Regions from separate parts of the Homo sapiens genome. Here all the other regions are linked to region 1. Evidence: promoter capture Hi-C in 16 types of primary human blood cells and fetal thymus (Javierre and others, 2016). All regions are on one chromosome and are shown on one strand. Each heading gives the region's core, a stretch centred on a gene start or on the middle of the fragment in contact. The rest is flanking DNA. Distances are from core to core; before and after follow the strand shown. Region 1 holds the start of TDP2 (tyrosyl-DNA phosphodiesterase 2). Region 2 overlaps MBOAT1 (membrane bound glycerophospholipid O-acyltransferase 1). Region 3 holds the start of SOX4 (SRY-box transcription factor 4).

Region 1 (2,753 bases), core at 168-2,667:
ACCCAGGAGGCGGAGGTTGCAGTGAGCCGAGATCGTGTCACTGCACTCCCGCATGGGCAACAGAGCAAGACTCCATCTCAAAACAACAACAACAACAAACACCTTCAAGGTCTGGCGTGGCGGCTCACACCAGTAATCCCAGCACTTTGGGAGGCGGAGGCAGGCGTTTCACCTGAGGTCGGGAGTTCGAGAGCAGCCTGACCAACATGGAGAAACCCTGTCTCTACTAAAAGTACAATATTAGCTGGGCATGGTGGCGCATGCCTGTAATCCCAGCCACTCGGGAGGCTGAGTGAGGCAGGAGAATTGTTTGAACCAGGGAGGTGGAGGTTGCAGTGAGCCGAGATCGCGCCATTGCACTCCAGCCTAGGCAACAAGGGCGAAACCTCATCCTAAAAAAACAAAAACAAACAAACACCTTCGGGCTTTGTGAGTGCTGGTCTCAGAAAAGCACTCAGTCTTCCTCCAAGGGCTAACTTACTTCTTCAGGAGTTGGGTGCCTTTGAGAAATTTCCCAAACCACTACAGAGGAACAACTTCTCCCTTCGTTCACCACTCTACCAAGCACTTGGCTTTTGTACCTTATTGCAATTATTTATCTTCTAATCTTCTAGAGCCTAGAGAATTAGACTGTAATGTGCCTTAAATGCAGAGGTTTCTCTTACTCTTCTCTGGAGCAATGCAGACGTTTGTTGGTTGAAGGATCAAACTCCAAAGTCCCTCCCAGCCTTGGAACTGTCTCCACGAGTCATAACCATACTTATCTATGTTTAGATAGAGAACTTACGCGTTCGACCCAGCATATTTAGGGGCTCCATTAAAGTAATAATCATTATTACTAAGGTGAATTTACAGGCGTACTAGAACACAACCTAACAAGAGATAATTATTCAAAGCTCACAACGGCACCAAGCACGGTGCTTTCTTTTCCTTCATTAGAAGCCACGGCTTCTCCCCTACCTTTCCCATACCTTTCCCAAAACTCTCTCAAAATTGCGAGCCTTGGTCATGGCCTTTATCACCTCCCGCAGAGACTGAGTCATGCTGGTCATCGTGGACGGTTTTCCAGCCTTTGGGCTTTGCGCAAGAACGAACTTCGGAAGAGCTGGAAAGTCCAGAAGTTAGTGAAAGAAGGAGGACACAAAGGGCGAAGAGCCCGCACCCTTCTCCGCCCCTAGGAGCGCAAGAGGCCGGGAGTCAGGCGAGCTGGCAGCCCCGGTGGTCCGCGATTTGCTCACTGACTTTCCTCGCACCCTTGTGACGAAGCGCGCATGCGCGCTTCGCACCCACCGCCCCGGCGGCTCCCTTGCGGCGCAGCTGCACCAGTTTTCCGAGAGCAGCGCATTTCCCCGCCGGGCGGTTGATGCGGGAGCGCCATGACACAGGCGCCTGCGCAGAGCCGCGCGTTGGCCTCCTGTTCCGCTTAAAGGGGCGGTGCAGAGGCGGCAGGAAGATGGAGTTGGGGAGTTGCCTGGAGGGCGGGAGGGAGGCGGCGGAGGAAGAGGGCGAGCCTGAGGTGAAAAAGCGGCGACTTCTGTGTGTGGAGTTTGCCTCGGTCGCAAGCTGCGATGCCGCAGTGGCTCAGTGCTTCCTGGCCGAGAACGACTGGGAGATGGAAGTACGCTTTCGCTGTCCTCGCTTCCGGCTCCATTACCTAGGTCGGTGGAGCGCACAAACCTCATCCCTTGTGCCTTTGTTTTTCAGAGGGCTCTGAACTCCTACTTCGAGCCTCCGGTGGAGGAGAGCGCCTTGGAACGCCGACCTGAAACCATCTCTGAGCCCAAGACCTAGTAAGTGATGAGGGGAGCGGGAGCCAGTCCGCACGGAGGCAGTTTGATACCAGGTAGCCCTGCGCGTCCTGGGACCTGCCGTGGAGCTGGGCGGACGATGCTGAGGCAGATCTCCAAGCTGCGTAGCCAGAGGAGCAGGGCTTGCGTTGCTGCTGCTGCGCGGAGTTGCGCCCCAGCAGCGGATCTAACACTGCACCAGACTGTCGCTTCGAACGTGATTTGGGGTCCAGGGAGGAAAAGATGGAAATGTAATGTTTAACTCAAATGAAAGGAAATAAGTAAGCGAGAGGTTTGAAACAAATGAACGAAGGCTAAACCTTCTATCGAAAAATGGCAACTTGGAAGTCTCCTTGCTTCCTGTATTGTTTATTTATTCTAGGCCCTAGGCTGACCGGCCAGAATAACAGGTTTGTTGTTGTTGTTATTTTTTTTTAATGCACACCTACTCCTGTTATTTCAGTGCCCCTCTCCAGTTCCTGCACTTAAAAAGTGTAGCTGCCTTACAAGGCCCTCTACTATTTGGCTCCATAACTTAGAACCTGCCTTTCCAGGTTCCAGGCCTATCAAACTTTTACTTTTTTCCAACGGGTCATTTTCTCCTGTCTTTGAAACTTCGTAAAGATCTTTATTACCTGTGCCTGGAATTTTTTTCTTTTCCCTTCCTTGCTAATATTTGTCTTAAAGCCCCAAGCTGAGACATGATTTATCTCTAGGAAGCTTTTCCTGATGTCCTAAGTCTGGGTAAGAGTCCCCTTTTAGGTACTCTTATAGCATCCTGCATGACCCCTGTTACAATACCTTAGTCCGTATTATAATTGCTGTTCATTATTTTATGTCTCCTACTAGACTGCACATCTAGTAAGGAGTATCTGTTTTGTACATTGTTAATTTCCCAAAGTCTGACACAACATTTGACACATAATAAGCTCCCAATAAATATTTACTGAATGTATAAAATTCTCC
Region 2 (2,753 bases), core at 254-2,753, 4.5 Mb after region 1:
TGGGGGTACGATGGTGAGGTATAAACCCCCAGGTCCACAGAGTTGCAGAGGACAGGCCTGGTGGAGTTGGGGACTGTCCCTCAGAGCCTGTGTGAAGATGGGCGGTCTCCATGCTGGGGGATTCTGGATAAGTCCAGAAGATGGGCTGGCCTACCAGAGACTGCTGACTGGTGTCACAGTCTAGTGGCTAGATTTGACGATAATTGAAGGGAGGACAGAGAGATCACAGGTATGGCCATATATTCCCTGGCATTTGAAGCAAAGGCCTAGTGTGTCCTGGAGCTTTAGCCTTCCTGTTGTGGAACAAGAGGTGATTCTTCACAGCTTGGCCTCAGTTTACCTGTCTGGCTTAAGGACACTGACAACTCCATACATTGAATGCTTACGCTCTCAGCACTGCTCTGCATACATTCTCTCAGTTAATACAGCACTAAAAGTTATTCCCCAAATTTCTTCCTTCTTTCCCTAAATTTCTTCTTTCTTTTCTTCTTTCCTCCTTCCTTTTCTCTCTTTTCTTTCTGAGATGGGATCTCACTCTGTTGCCTAGGGTAGAGTACACTGGCTTGATCATGGCACCCTGCAGTCTCAAACTCTTGAGCTCAAGCAATCCTCCTGCCTCAGCTTCCCAAGTAGCTGGGACTAAAGGTGCATACCACCCCACCTGGCTAATTTTTTTGTATTTTTTATAGAGATGTGGTCTTGCCATGTTGCTCAGGCTGGTCTTAAACTCCTGGCCTGAAACGATCCTCTCACCTCAGCCTCCCAAAATGCGGGGATTATAGTTGTGAGCTACCACACCCAGCCTGTTCCCCAAATTTCAAGTTAGGAAGCAGCCCCCAGGGCTTATGTTACTTGCTTGTAGCTGGGAAGGGGCAGAGGCAGGACTCGAACTCAGGTCTGTCACTGGAGGCCGTGCTCCTGGTTGCTGCACTGCATTCCAGCACCATTTTCCCTGTGTGCTGTGCTTTCAGCACAGTGAACTCTTTACTTCCTATCCCTCAAACACAGTGTGTCTTTCATACCCTCCAGCCTCTGCACACACACACTTCCTTCTCCTTGGAGGTTTATTCCTCATCCTGGTCCTCAATTCCTGTTTTCAGGCTGGGCCCTAAAATCCTCTCCTCGTCTTCCCTCTGTAACCCAGCCCTCCCTCCCCACCAGGGCCAAATGGACCCCTTCTTTCTCTCTGTTTCTCCATAGCGTCCTATCCATATCACATTGCTCTGCCTTTTACTTTACTTCTTAGATATTTATTGGTCTCTCTGTCCTGCCTGACTCTGAGAGGCATCTTTCCATAGTTACTTACTGAGCGCTGTATGCTAGTGGGCTAAATGGAGATACAGAGATTAGTGAGTTATCTGTGCCTTCTGTGAGACAAACATGTAGATACTTGGTAAACTGCTGTTTGCCTGTAAGCCTTGAAATATCACGTGCCCAATGCACACACCACTGCCAGAGGACACGGGGCCTCGGCATCTCTGGGCCTCTCCTGAGACAGTGCTAGGGGAGAACTTCCTGGGAGCAGCTACTTTAGAAGCAGGAGGGAAATTAGAGGGGAGAGGGGCCAGGTGAGACAGTCAGAATATTCTAGGAGGAAGAGAAGAGAGTCTCATTCTTTATGGGTAGTGATCATTATCAAAGAAGAAAATGTTAACAAATTGAATTTAAAGATGGAATTGTCTTTTATTAGTGATTCATGAATCAGGCAGCTTCCCATCTGTAAAACAGCAAGGCTGAGCTGAGCTGAAGAGGTGGACTTTACAGGTAGAAAAGGCTGAAGAAAGCAGAAGCAAAGAATAACAAGCAAAGTTACTTTCCTTATAAGGTTAAAAAAGATGGGACTTCCTTATGCTGGCTCAGGTAGACTGGGCCCCTTTTCTGTTGGTTGCTGTGAATCTCCTATTTTTTTTTTTTTTTTAAACGGGCCCATTGTAAAGTTGTTTGTTTATATAGCTCCTGGCATCAGTGACTCCATTCTGGTTTGGTCTGGTCTGTTGGGGCCTGGTGCAGGAGCTCGGTCCAAAATAATTGCTCCTTACTAATTTTATTTACCACCACTGAAGATGAATCTTCGTCATCTTTGTATGGTTAGCACAAAGTAGGAACTAAATACATGTTTGTTGAATTGAAATGGAATTTTATTTACATTTTTGGATTGGAATGAATGACTTAATTAAGATAAAATTGGGAGCCAGTTCTTTTTACCAACTGAATTAGGCCTGTTTATTATTTGGAACCTGAATATCAGATTAAATGGGACCAATTTCTAATTTGAAAGTTAATTCATGGCTCACTTGCTGGTAGTGAAATGTTTATCTTGAGTTATTTAAAGATGACATACTCTATTCCCATTTTCATTGTGTGCAGTTGATATACTCATCACCTCCAGTTATAAATGCAGCTATTAGTATCTTTTTTTTTTTGGCCCAGTTGTTTCAGATTTCTGTGAACATGTAGAAATTTCCTTTAGCAGTCTAAAATCAAGTCATACATACGAAAGATGCCATATAGTCAAATACTCTCAAGTATTCTGTAGCTTGGCCTTGGAATTACATTTATTATTTTATTTTTATTTTTTATTGAGACAGGGTCTCACTGTGTTGCCCAGGCTGGTCTTGAACTCCTGGGCTTAAGTGATCCTCCTGCCTTGGCCTCCCAAAGTGCTGGGATTACAGGCGGAAGCCACCACACCCAGCCAGGAATTACATTTATAAAGGAAAATTTCATGAAAAGATTATATCTAAAGAGATAAA
Region 3 (2,753 bases), core at 94-2,593, 3.1 Mb after region 1:
CGCCACTCGCACCGCCGCCTCCTCCCCCCGCGTTGCTGCTCCCGCCGCCGCCGCCGCCCCCATGGCCGCCCCCGCCACTGCCACCGACCTTGTCTCCCTTCTCCCCCGGCTTGGAGGAGGCGGCGGCCGAGGAGCTGGAGTTGGCGTTGCCGGACTTCACCTTCTTCCTGGGCCGGTACTTGTAGTCGGGGTAGTCAGCCATGTGCTTGAGGCGCAGCCGCTCCGCCTCTCGAATGAAAGGGATCTTGTCGCTGTCTTTGAGCAGCTTCCAGCGTTTGCCCAGCCGCTTGGAGATCTCGGCGTTGTGCATGTCGGGCGACTGCTCCATGATCTTGCGCCGCTCGATCTGCGACCACACCATGAAGGCGTTCATGGGTCGCTTGATGTGCCCACTCGGGGTCTTGCACCAGCTCGGGTCGTCGGCCTTGCCGCCCGTGGAGGCGGTGGAGCCGGGCGTGGGGGAGGAGGCGATTCCCAGCTCGAGGCCGGCGCCCGAGTCCGAGCTCTCGCCGGCCAGCAGCGCTTCCGTGTTCTCGGCATTGTTGGTTTGCTGCACCATGGCCTCGGCTCGGCGGGCGCCCACGCGCGCTCACACCCTCGCGGCGGCCGCCGCGCGATCGCCGGGCCCTCCCGGTTCCCCGGGCCAAGCACACGCCGAACGGGAAGACGCGCGCGGCGGCCGAACTGGCCCCTCAACTCCTCGCAGGGGCGGAGGTGGGTAAAGAGAGAAAAGTCCCCAAAAGATTTGGGGAAGGAGTTCTCCGCCTCTCGCAGAGGAGTTATAGTTCCCAGGCTGGAGAGTCTCTCTCTCCCTCTCTCTCGCTCTCTCACCGCGCTGCAGTTTGCTGTCTCTCGGCTGAGTCTGGAGACCGTGCTAAAGTAGAGAGGAGTTTCTCGAATGCTGGTTGCTGAAGCTTCCAATGCAAGTTTCTCGCGGCCTCCCAGGCAAGTCTTTTTTTTTTTTTTTTCTTTTTCCCTGAAGCAGTTGATTCCAGTTCACGAGCGCTCTCGGTAGCTCAGGAAAGCGACATAGTCTCTAGCACTTAGTCCCTCTCCTACAATGCAAAGCAAAAAAGACTGTGGCTCCAGGACTCTCTGTGGGCGGAATCGGCACTAAGGAGTTGGTGCAATTATTTTGTTGCAAGGTAGGAAGCCAAAAAGCCTGCATGCAACAGACTGGCATGAATAAATGTATGTTTCCCCCTCCCTTCTGCAAGAAGGGAGCTGGTAATGGCAGGAGTTCCTCCAGTGCAGACTCTTAAAGAGCGTGCAAGAACTAGAGACCCGACAGCGAAACAGGCCTCTTCCCCTCACACACAGTTTCTCTTGCTGCAGCTTAGAGCAGACCCCAATTCCGCCTCGCGCCTCTTTATCCTTTCACAGTCTTGGCTGCAGCCAATCAGCTGCTGTAACCAACGCTTCCTCATGCCAAACCCCTCCCCCGGGCTTCCCATTGGCTTGGAACCCGATGCAATAATAATCTCCGCGTGCAATGAGAAGCTCCAAATCTGACCTCATTCCAATTTACAGAGCAAACTTTTTAAAAGGGCTAGAAGTACAGCTGAGATTTCTGCTGCCTCTTTTTTCCTTTTGCTGTGTGTGTGCGCGCGCGTGTGTGTGCGCGCGTGCGTGTGTGTATAGTGTGTGAAGAGGATGTTAATGCATGAAATTATTAAGGGGAGAGACGGAAATGTATTCTAACCATTATGTTAGATAACAAGGGGCTTGGAACGGGGCGGGGTAAGGGTGAAATACTGTAAATGGAAGCTTTCTGCTTAAAAGCCAAGTGATTATTTTTATTAGTTCTTTTCAGCATTGGAATAAAGAATCAGCCTCTGGTGCAAAATCTGTTCCCCAGCTCTTTCTTAAAGCCAAAGCTGTAAAGGGGAAGAGAAAGCCACAAAACAATAAATCAATGGATATTGAAAACCATTAAGAAAGTGGTACCTAGACACCTGTCATCACAATTATTTTAACAACTCTAGGTACAGCACAGATGTTGATGTATTGTGTAAATCCCTTCAGAACCGTTTTTGTGCTGTTTGTGGAAGGCAGGGAAGAGGACTTTGCAATAATTGCTTACTCTCTTAACCAAGCAAGGGTCAACTATGGTTATTTAATGATTTAAACTCCCTGTAAATCCTGCATAGCCCAAACAGGGGAGCTTTCCCTTGAAACACATTAGGTAGTGCTCCGTAATTACCTCAATAGGCAGATTTCCAGAGTTTTGTATAGGATGTATAATGGCATGTAAAGGATGGAAATCGGTTTTACTTTCTAAATATTTGTTTTCCCTGTTTTCAAAATTAAAGATTGCTTCACTCTCTTCCCTCTCCTCCTCCCAAAGCCATCTTCCTCCTTTCCTTCTTATATATTTCCTCTTGTTACTTGAATCGAAGGGAACTGAAAAACCAAGGCAAAGAGAAACTGTAGAAGGAGGTGATAACTGGTAGCAGAAGAGAATGGGGCCTCCGGATTCATAGTAGACCTGGCTGCTAATCCTTCTTAATGGTTTGTAACTATGGGGATGTGGCCAAGTCTCAGTTTTCCTCATCTATTATATGGGAACACTAGGAGCTACTTTATAGAGGGTTGTTGTGAGGGTTCAATGAATTTGTGACTATGAAGCACCTGATGTATTGTAAGCCCTCAATGAATACTAATATCTTCCTTTCTAATTCAAATGCCAGACACACTCCTAGTAAAAGCTGCATGTTGTTCAAGAGGCTAAAACAGAATAGCCACTTATGTAA

The links. Contacts are between HindIII fragments. The CHiCAGO score rates a contact against its expected background, and 5 or more counts as called.
Region 2: a fragment that was not itself captured here is called in contact with the fragment with the promoter of TDP2 in region 1 in 1 of 17 cell types (M0 macrophages); the score reaches 5.9 in M0 macrophages.
Region 3: a contact is called between the fragment with the promoter of SOX4 here and the fragment with the promoter of TDP2 in region 1, in 1 of 17 cell types (fetal thymus). The highest score is 5.5, in fetal thymus.

Annotation. Positions count from the first base shown.
Region 1 is chr6:24,665,563-24,668,315 of GRCh38, reverse strand. TDP2 (tyrosyl-DNA phosphodiesterase 2) reads left to right here and starts at 1,417. Exons shown (of 7, transcript NM_016614.3): 1 at 1,417-1,618; 2 at 1,705-1,790. The coding sequence starts at 1,454. It overlaps ACOT13 (acyl-CoA thioesterase 13), which reads right to left and starts at 1,239. Exons shown (of 3, transcript NM_018473.4): 1 at 972-1,239. The coding sequence starts at 1,052. RefSeq lists enhancers at 1,201-1,495, 1,027-1,698, 1,699-2,371. The HindIII fragment of the contact is 8,130 bases long and covers 1-2,509 here.
Region 2 is chr6:20,202,966-20,205,718 of GRCh38, reverse strand. The region is part of intron 1 of MBOAT1 (membrane bound glycerophospholipid O-acyltransferase 1); the gene reads left to right. Among named protein-coding and RNA genes, the nearest start is that of MBOAT1, 8.1 kb to the left of the region's middle. The HindIII fragment of the contact is 4,589 bases long and covers 1-2,753 here.
Region 3 is chr6:21,592,341-21,595,093 of GRCh38, reverse strand. SOX4 (SRY-box transcription factor 4) reads right to left here and starts at 1,343. Exons shown (of 1, transcript NM_003107.3): 1 at 1-1,343. The coding sequence starts at 559. RefSeq lists a silencer at 553-732. The HindIII fragment of the contact is 853 bases long and covers 917-1,769 here.